Regions from separate parts of the Homo sapiens genome. Here all the other regions are linked to region 2. Evidence: promoter capture Hi-C in 16 types of primary human blood cells and fetal thymus (Javierre and others, 2016). All regions are on one chromosome and are shown on one strand. The core of a region is centred on a gene start or on the middle of the fragment in contact, and the rest is flanking DNA. Distances in the headings are between cores, read along the strand shown.

What was found. Contacts are between HindIII fragments. The CHiCAGO score rates a contact against its expected background, and 5 or more counts as called.
Region 1: a contact is called between a fragment that was not itself captured here and the fragment with the promoter of IFNLR1 in region 2, in 3 of 17 cell types (megakaryocytes, monocytes and M2 macrophages). The highest score is 5.6, in megakaryocytes.
Region 3: a contact is called between a fragment that was not itself captured here and the fragment with the promoter of IFNLR1 in region 2, in 12 of 17 cell types (megakaryocytes, total B cells, monocytes and 9 more). The highest score is 9.3, in megakaryocytes.

Annotation. Positions count from the first base shown.
Region 1 is chr1:24,378,678-24,381,809 of GRCh38, reverse strand. It overlaps STPG1 (sperm tail PG-rich repeat containing 1), which reads left to right. Exons shown (of 9, transcript NM_001199013.2): 5 at 1,987-2,157. Among named protein-coding and RNA genes, the nearest start is that of STPG1, 34 kb to the left of the region's middle. The HindIII fragment of the contact is 392 bases long and covers 1,258-1,649 here.
Region 2 is chr1:24,185,078-24,188,654 of GRCh38, reverse strand. It overlaps IFNLR1 (interferon lambda receptor 1), which reads left to right and starts at 1,366. Exons shown (of 7, transcript NM_170743.4): 1 at 1,366-1,464. The coding sequence starts at 1,407. RefSeq lists a silencer at 1,104-1,593. The HindIII fragment of the contact is 11,665 bases long and covers 1-3,577 here.
Region 3 is chr1:24,396,486-24,399,540 of GRCh38, reverse strand. All of the region lies in intron 2 of STPG1 (sperm tail PG-rich repeat containing 1), which reads left to right. Among named protein-coding and RNA genes, the nearest start is that of STPG1, 16 kb to the left of the region's middle. The HindIII fragment of the contact is 329 bases long and covers 1,279-1,607 here.

The DNA of each region.
Region 1 (3,132 bases), core at 204-2,703, 190 kb before region 2:
TGCATCCCAAGACTTAGAGGGAATTAAAAGTAGCTCTCATCAGAGAAAGATCAGAATGACCAGTAGGAATGTGATTATGGGTGAGGCTGACCAAAAAACTCTGTGGGTCTATAAATTTTAGAAACTTCCTCATGACTGTTGAAACAACTACACCCAACCTTTTGAGAGACCTGTCATCTCTCTAAGTCTGAATGATATAAAGAGCTTTATTAGTATATTCCAAATCTTTGCTCCAGAATCTTCCACAGGACTGACTAGGAGAAGTGTATGAGGCAGGTGGGTGGAGAGTTTGATGGCCTCTCTGTATTTGCATGCTGGCAGGAGTGGCTCTAGAAAAGTTAGTAGGTGCTGGAGAGAAGTTCATAAATGCCGGCATTTGGCCAGATTGGAGGCCACAGGCCTGGCAAGTAAACCAAGGGGTGTGTAGTGTTGGTGAGTGAGTGTTACTGTAGCCACATTCTGAGACTAATTCTATTACGATACTTTATAAAACATTGCCTCTACTGGGACTTTTTTGGGAAGAAGTTTTTTCATTTTCAAAATGTAAGTTGTAGGTGTTCTAAACCAAAAAAGAGTCTATGATTGAATGGGCTTGCTGTTATCCCAGAGCCATGTCGCTCAACCCTTTCCCCTTTAGAATGGGCTCTCTGATCCATGTCATGTAGTGGAGGCTGACTGCTTGGGTAGGAATGCTGGTCCTCCGCCTGAATTAGCTGGGGAAGTTCAGCTTCCTCATCTGTAAAGTAGAGATAATCATAAGATCCACTGCTCAGGGTTGTCCTGAGGATTCAACACAAAAACCCACCAAAGGTATTGGTTAACTCTTGGCCAGAATGAAAAAGATGAAGCACGTTCAAAGCTGGGGTGACCTTACTTCTAGGAGCATCAGCAAATCCTTACACACTGCATGTAGCCACTTCTTATTAGAATTCGAGTTTGGCAGAGTTGGATACTCAAGGAACAGATCAGCGTTGGAGTTAACTTCCCATTACTGAAGAGGCTGGGGTTGAGCTGGGGCTTGAACCCAGGTTAGGCTCTGAACAACTTAGGCTCTGGACAAGAACACTCCCGCTTCTGGTGCTACACCCCCCCAAATGCTAGTGGGGGTCCATAAACCAGACGCTGAGGACCGTCACCACCAAGCACAGAGTGAAGTAGGGGGGCCCTAATGCCTTCCTTTTGGCTCACCCACTTTCTGTGTTTGTGTAGTTATTGATTCCTATCAAGTGAGAAAATCCAGGGCAATGTTCTCAAGCTTTTGACCATTAAATAGTGGGAAATTTTTTGTTTTATCAGACTCCAATACTTGCCATGCTATCTTAGGGGAAAGTGATGTTATCACTGAGTTTCTGTGACTTTTGTCCCTGTTCTTTTGACAAACATTGATTCTGTTTGTTTTTTAACTGAAGATAATTTATCGTGGCTTCCTGAAAGGGTGGGATTGGTTCTGTTAAACCGTGAAAATACTGTAGGATTTGATGAAAACAGTAATTTGGTGGAGGGTAGGAGGCACAGATGGACAACAAGCCCCCTGGAGCTTTGTTTGAAGCAAACTCGTTGCTTAGGCAGTTCAGATCATTTAACCTTAGAAACAAGATGTGAGATTTTACTCAGAAGAAAAGCCTAGGCTGAGAAGAGCATCTAAAGCTTCCTATCACATAAATTACCCAACAGCTGATGAGTCAAGGGTAAGTGGCCTGGAACAGGATTGGGTGGAAATGCATTTATGGCAAAATCATTTTTGCCAAGTCCCAAACAGAAGATGAATAATTTGAGTTAGTTTACAGAAGCGAGTACAGGTCTGAACTTGCGTTTTCCAAGGGAAGATCCTCAAAGCCTGAGGTCAGTTTATCATTGTTACTGCCAGAGTTTCGCCTTTTATAAAATGCATTTAGACCTTGTGCTGGTCACCATCTTTTTGACATCTGTCCTTCAGATCCACAATATTATGTGACAATGCTGATTCCTTTGGTTGTCTCCTTACAGTGCGCCCGATTGGACACCATCATTTCTAAATACCCTGCAGCGAATGCATACACTATCCCATCGGATTTTATTTCCAAGAGAGACTTTAGTAATTCGTGTTCCAGCATGTTCCAGTTGCCAAGCTTTATGAAAGCTCTCAAGTTTGAAACTCCTGCACCAAACTATTACAATGTAAGAACTCTGCCTATGCTTGCTAAATACAGATCGAATTAATGGTTTACTAAAATAAAAGGAAGAGGGGATCTTGGGGACATCGTATTTTAATGCAGTTGTCAAGCCAGTTAGCATTTGTTGACTACCCAATGGGTGCCTAAGGCTGTACAAGACTCTTACAGGGAATTTGCAGACCCCAGAGATCAGGATGGGCAACATGGAGGCCAGTATCAAGCTGTGGGGAGGCCACTGCCCTGAGAAACACATATTCTAATTACTCTTGTCCTGTAACCTTTCTGGGACGTAGTTTTCTCATCTGTAACAATGGGTGTATTATTTACCACTTTGTCTGCAGCCACTAATGATTTACTTTTTAGGTTCTTCTAGGGAAAATAAACTTTCATATCAGAAAATAGGTGTTTTAACAGTCGTGCCCTGCTGTGCCAATTATGATCGCTTTGTATTCACTGACGCAGAATGGCATGGATGGTTAAGAGATGGACTCAGGAAGGTTTGGTTTAGCTCTCATCTGTTGCCACTTTCTAACTGTGCGGCCTTCGGCAAGTCCCTTAACCTTTCCAGGGCTTAGTTTACTGATCTGTAAAATGGTGATGTATGTTCACCTCATCGTGTTAATGCAAATATTAAATGAGATAATGTATGCTTCATGCCCAGGACAGCACCAGTCACACAAGGACCACACAATACATGGAGATTGGTAGGGCTGTCTTTGTTAGTACATGAAGGGTATTTACTTACCCTTAAATACAAGCAAGTAAGTAAGTCACAGCCCCCACTGTACAATGGAATCAATTCTACTTGCCCTACAGGGTTACCATAAGGCAACGAACGTGAAAGCACTCTGAAGTGCGCAAGATATGAATTGTACTTAAGACATTAATGTTATGCCATTTTCCAAACTATTTTGGTTTTATACATTTATTATACCATTTCCTTTTTTCCTTCATAATATTGATAATTAATAATTATTTT
Region 2 (3,577 bases), core at 117-2,616:
CTGAAATTTCCAAAAGAAATTTCCCCCGCGGTTAAACTCAGAGCAACTTTTGGACCCACCAAGCTCTGTGAAAATCATTTTCTCTTCCAAAAACTGATGGGACCAAAGCTGATCCCAGTTTCAAATAATTATCAAAAAATTGGAAACGAAATATGATCAGAAAAGAAGAAAGTTGAAAAAGAAAATCCTCATCACCCAAAGACAACAACCATTAATATTTTGGTAATTATTATTCCAAATATCTTTCTATGCATACAGACAGACTCACACACACACACACACACACACACACACACTTTTTTTTTTTTTTTTGAAACTGAGTTTCACTCTGTCGCCCAGGCTGGAGTGCAGTGGCGCGATCTCGGCTCACTGCAACCTCCGCCTCCTGGGTTCAAGCGATTCTCCTGCCTCAGCCTCCCTGATAGCTGGGATTACAGGTGAATGCCACCACGCCCGGCTGATTTTCTGTATTTTTAGTAGAGACGGGGTTTCACCATGTTGGCCAGGCTTGTCTCCAACTCCTGACCTCAGGCGATCCACCCGCCTCACCCTCCCAAAGTGCTGGGATTACAGGCGTGAGCCACCGCGCCCGGCTACACACACACTTTTTTAATGGGCCTATGTTTTAGCACTCGCTTTTCTGTTTCTCAGTGTGTTGCAAACACCTCGGTGTCGATACACACCATTCGGCAACGTCCTCCTAAAGGGCCGCATAATATTGCGCGTCGTGGCGTGTGCCTTACTGGGAAGCTACTGCTGTCCAGGTGAACACCACAGCCTTCGGGGTCAGAAAGACAGCTTTCCCCAGAACAAGCACCTGAAGCTCTGGGGCCTGCCGCTCCCCGGGAGAGAAGTACGTGGAGAAGGGCAGCACGGATCCGCCGGGATCCCCGGGGGCATTAAAGGGAATCGCGTGTGTAAGGCGCGGAGCTCAGCATCCGGCTCAGAAACGCGCTCGGATCCCGCCAATGGCATTGAGGCCGCGTAGCCAAACCGGCCTTGAACTCTCCCTAATCCTGCCAAAATGGCCCGTCCTGGAGCACTGGACTGGCCGTGGGTTATTGATCATCAGCCGGTTTCTTCCCCTCCCCTGCCCTTCCCCCGTGCACGGATTTACTGATTTTTTTTTCCGGGAATTGAGTAAAACAAAACTAAGTGCAGATGAAGCAGAGGTACGGGCGAGTTTCGAGCGCGGGGACCGGCGCGCTCCCCCCCCCCCCTCCCCCCGCGGCGGGGCTGTCCCCAGGGACCTTCTCAGTGAATCCTAGGCGGCAGGGACGGGCCCGCGGCTCTGCGGGCCATTGGCTGCCGACTGCGTCACCTGCCCGCGGTGGGCTAGGAGACGGGAGGCGGGAGGCGGGAGGCGGGGACCTGGGCCCGGGCGGGGACGCCGCGGCAGGAAGGCCATGGCGGGGCCCGAGCGCTGGGGCCCCCTGCTCCTGTGCCTGCTGCAGGCCGCTCCAGGTAAGGGCGCGGGGCCGCGGGAGGGAGGGGGAAGAGGGCTCCCCGGGCCGGGCCGCGCCTACCCTCGGACCCGGAGCTCCTGGGACAGGCACGGGGTCCGCAGCCACCCGAGCCGGGTGCGAATCGGCCCTGCCTACGCGCCCCCAGTTTGCTTCTTCCCAGGACTGAACAGAACCGGGTCTTTGATATTCCTCTCCCGCAGGAAACGAATCCAGTTTCCTAATGCTTCCAGCTTCAGGAGAACTGGAGAAAAAAGACAGCGGCAGTTTGATACTGCATATTTTTTAATAAAGTGCTTTTTAATGTTTCCTAAAGAAAGCACTGATCCCTGCGTGAAAACCACACTTGACCCTAAAGTGTGGACAGCAGGGAAAGTGGGACCGATTGATGTCCCTTCCCGTTCCTGCCAGGCCTCTGGTGGGACGGAGCTCTGGTCGCCTGTGCCCTGCTTTCTAACAAGACGGCTTTCTTTTGGTGGTGGTTGTTGTTTTGTTGTTGTTTTGTTGTTGTTGTTGTTGTTGTTGTTTTCCCACCTCTACTGATGAGTAAGGTGTCAGGTACAAAATTCCTCGCCGTAGGACCCAACCACCAAACCTCACCGCCCACGACTCCAACCGAAGCAGGGAAGAGAAGGTCCAGAAATCGCCCCCAGGATATTTTCCTAGTCTTGGACTCACAGTTTAAAGAGCTGTAAAGGTCCCTGGGCATAATCCAATCATCATAAAAGCCTATATTTATTCAGCAACTTCTTTGTGCCAGGCACCGCATTATTCTGGAAGCCTCACGACCCAGCCATCCTCGGAGGTAGATATTATTTTTACTTTTCCGATGGGAAAACTGAGGCTCAGAGCAATTCAGGGAATTCCTCAAGAAGGATGGCAGAGGTGAGGCACACAGAAGAGAGAAGAGGGGCTAAAGCAAGCCTGGCTAGCTTTTGCCTCCAGGGTAGGCACGTGGGACAGGCTGTCCATCCACTGGGTCACTAGGCCAGCCAGGGATGCTCCAGCCCCCAGTGCCCACAGCAGCGTTCTCTGTGGCTGATGAGGGACCGTGTACCTGTGTGTGGAGGGAGGGTGGGGTCTTCTGTTCCCCTTTCACTGTCAAACCCAGACCTTCTTGTACTTTCACCTGATAAGTATTTAATATACACAACACTAACTATGGTGTGATGATTTAGGAGTAAGTACAGCCAGATCTAAGTTCAAATACTGGCTCCCACACAAACTGACTGTGTAGCCTCAGGCAAGTTAGTTAGCATCTGTCTCTGAGCCTAGCGCCCTTTCCATGGAAGCAGAATGAATGACACCTACCCCATAGGGTGGTCTGTCCCAAGGGTGATTGAGGTTTTACATGTAAAGAGCCAAACTAGTGCCTGGCATCCTTTGAAGGCTTCATAGAGGAAAGTTGCTCTAACTGCTGTTTTTCTCATGTGACCTAGCTCGAATCTGGGGACTGTCCTGCCCATAGGATACCTTACAAGTGGCTTGCAGACAGCCTGGTCTCCTGCTGGTCACCCGTTAGGAAGTCCAGAAGCTGGGAGTAGTAATAGCACTAGCCTCGTGGTGATACAGTCCCAGCTAGAGGACACAGGATGAGGTGGAAGCAGGCACCCACTTTTGGGTCTAGAAGGTGATGGGTAGGCAGCCGAGGCTGGGGACAGCCATCCACAGAACTGGACCCTCCCTCCCTGATGCCATTTTGCAACCCGTATGGATTTCCATCATGGCACATGGGACACTTCAGGACCCTGAATTCTCCATGGGACCATGAGCTCCTATAGGGCAGGAATGAAGTTGTGTTCTTCTTTGAAACCCCTGGCACACCGTGGTCAACAGATCTTGTTTGACTCGTAGTGGTCAATAGATGGAATAGTTGGAATCATAAAGCTCAATAGACCCCATGAGAACCTAGAAGACAAAGTACAGTCAAGAGCTCGGACTTTGGAGTTGGCTAGGCCTGGACTGAATCTGATTCTACAACTTAATAGCTGAGAGGGCCTTGGTTTTCCCATCTGTAACGATTATAATTATTATAATGAATACCTACCTCCTAGGGATGTAATGAGGATTAAAAGAGAAAGTGCAGGTAAACTGTTTAGCACAGAACCTGGCTC
Region 3 (3,055 bases), core at 194-2,693, 210 kb before region 2:
AATTTATCAGTCTCTTTATGTTTAGTGTACATGTCTATTTTATTAATACTTAAGAAATCTTTGCCCATCCCAAGATAGTTTCTTCTAGAAACTCTATTATTTTACCTTTTACATCTAGATCTACAATTCACTTGAAATTGTTTTTGATTGAGGAAGATGCCCGAGTCTGTTGTTTTCCATGTTGACCCAGCACCATTTATTGAAAGGCTGCTCATTCTCTACTACTCTGTATTGCTGTTGCTACCTTTGTCATAAATCAAGTGTCCAGGCATATGCAGCTCTGCTTCTTGATTATTTATTCTGTTCAAATATCATACTGTCCTAATTACTGTAACTTTATAATAACTCTTTAGTAGCATAAGCCCTTCAACTTTGTACTTCTTTGTTTATGCTGGCTATTCTTGACCCCAGTGCATTTCCATATAAATTTATTTTACTTTTTTATTTTTAATTTTTATGGATACATAATAGTTGTACATATTTATGGTGCACACATGATATTTTGATACAAGAATATAATGTGCGATGATCAAATCTGGGTAGCTATACAAATTTTACAATCAGCTTATTAATGTCTTAAAAAAACTCTACTCTCATTTTAATTTGGATTGCATTGATTCTAGAAATCAATTTAAGGATAATTTACATCTTTACAATAAATATTAACTTCTCTAATCCATGTATAGATCCTTTTATTTAAGTTACCTTAAATTGTTCTCAATGTTTTGGAGTTTTCTATGTAGAAGTCTTGCATATCTTCATTATATCTATTGTAGGCATTTGATTTTTATGCTGTTATAAATGGTAATTTTAAATTTTATTTTAAATTGTTTGTTGCTGCTGTACAAAAAAATTAATTGATTTTTGTATATTGACCTTGATTCTGGTGACCTCACTAAATCCAACTATTACCTCTTATAGGGTGTCCACAGATTATTTTGCAATTTCCCCATACACAATCTTGTAATCTGTGAAAATGACAACTTTATTTCTTCCTTTCTCATCCATATATTTTATGTATTTTTAATATATTTTATGTAGGCGTTTGTATTGGCTAGAGACCTTCAGTACAACGTTGAATAGAAGGATAATAGCAGTTGTACTAGTTTCACTCCCTGTCTCAAGGGAAAGCCTTTAATATTTCACAATTTGGTATCCTGTTTGCTATAGGCTTTTGTTATAGACACCTTTTATCAGATTAACAAAGTTTGCTCCTATTCCTAGTTTGCTAGAGTTTTTCTTTTAATCATCAAAGGATATTAGATCTTATGAAAAGCTTTTTCTGTATCTACTAAACAGTTACTTCACCAAAAAAAAGATATACAGAGGGAAAATAGCATATGAAGGACTGCTTAGCATCATTAGTCATTAGGGAAATGCAAATTAAAACCATAATGAGATACCATTACATACCTAATGGGATGCCTGAGATTAAAAAGACTTCCCATTGCTGATAAGAATGTGAAGTCATAGAAATTTTCATACGCTAATAGTGGGGATGTGCAAAAGTACAACGACTATGAAAAATAGTTTGACAGTTTTTTAAAAAGTTAAACATATGATCTAGTCATTCCACTCCTAGGCATTTACCCCGCAAAATGAAAGCTTATGTCCATTTAAAGACTTGTAGATAAAATGCTCATAGCAGTTTTATTTGTAATGCCCCCAAACTGGCGACAACTCAAATTTACATCACCAGTGAATAAACATCATGTTTTTATACAATGGAATATTACTCAACAATAAAAAGCAATGGAGTATTGATATATCAGCAACAGAGATGAATCTCATAGTAATTATGCTGAGTGAAAGAAGCCAGACAAAAAGAGTACATGTTACAGGTATATGATTTTTTTAATCTGTTGAGATACTCGTATGGTTTTTCTTTTTTAGTCCGTTAATATGATGAATTATATTGATTTTTAAATATTAAACTATTTTTGCATTACTGGGGTTGGTCACGATGTATTATCTTTTTATATATTGTCTGGTTTGATTCGCTAAAATTTTTCTAAGGATTTATGTATTTATGTTTATGAGGGCTGCTGACCTCTAGTGATCTTTTTCCCTCTTGTAATGATGCCATATAGTTTTGGTATCAGGTAGTGGTTGCCTCATTGAATGAGTTTGGAAATGTCTTTTCCTCTTCAGTTTTCTGGGACAGCTTGTATGGAATTGATAGGTGGAGTGTTCTATAAATGCCAATTAGGTCAGGTTAGGTAATAGTTTTGTTCAGGTTTCATATATCTTTACTGATCTATCTACTTGTTTAAATTATCGAGGGAGATGTTTTGAGATCTCTGACTATAATTGTGAAATTTTCTATTTTTTCTCGCAGTTTTATCAGTTTCTGCTTCTTATATTTTCAATCTCTTTTTATTGGGTACATCAGCATTTAGGACTGTTATGTTCTCTTGAGGAGCTGACTGCTCATAATGACCCCATTATGAAATGACCCTCTTTATTGCAGGTAATATTTTTTGCTCTGAAATCTACTTTATCTGATAATATCTAACTATCTTTTGATTAGTGTTAGCATAGTAAATCTTTTTCCATTATTTTACTTTTAACTTATTTCTGAGTTTATATTTCAAGTATGTTTCTCCAAGGTAACATATAGTTGGGTCTTTCTTTCTTATCCAATCTGAGAATCTCTGTTTTTTAATTGGGATATTTAGATTATTTACATTTAATGTGATTATTGGTGTATAAGTTTAAGTCTATCATCTTGTGACTTGCTTTCTATTCGTCCCATCTGTTCTTTATTTACCTTTTCTCTGTCTCTTGTATTATTTTTAATGCTTCAATTTTATCTCCTTTGTTAGCCTATTAGGAATAACTCCTTGTAGTATTTTCCTAGTGGTTACCTTAAAGCAACAGTTGGCAAACTTTGCTCCTTGGACCAAATCTGACCCACTGCCTATTTCTATTAATAAAGTTTTATTGGAACACGGCCACCCCAGTTTGTTTATGTATTGTCTGTGGCTGCTTTTACTCCATAATGGCAGCACTGAATAGTTGCCACAGAGAATAAATAGACTGCAAAGACTAAAAT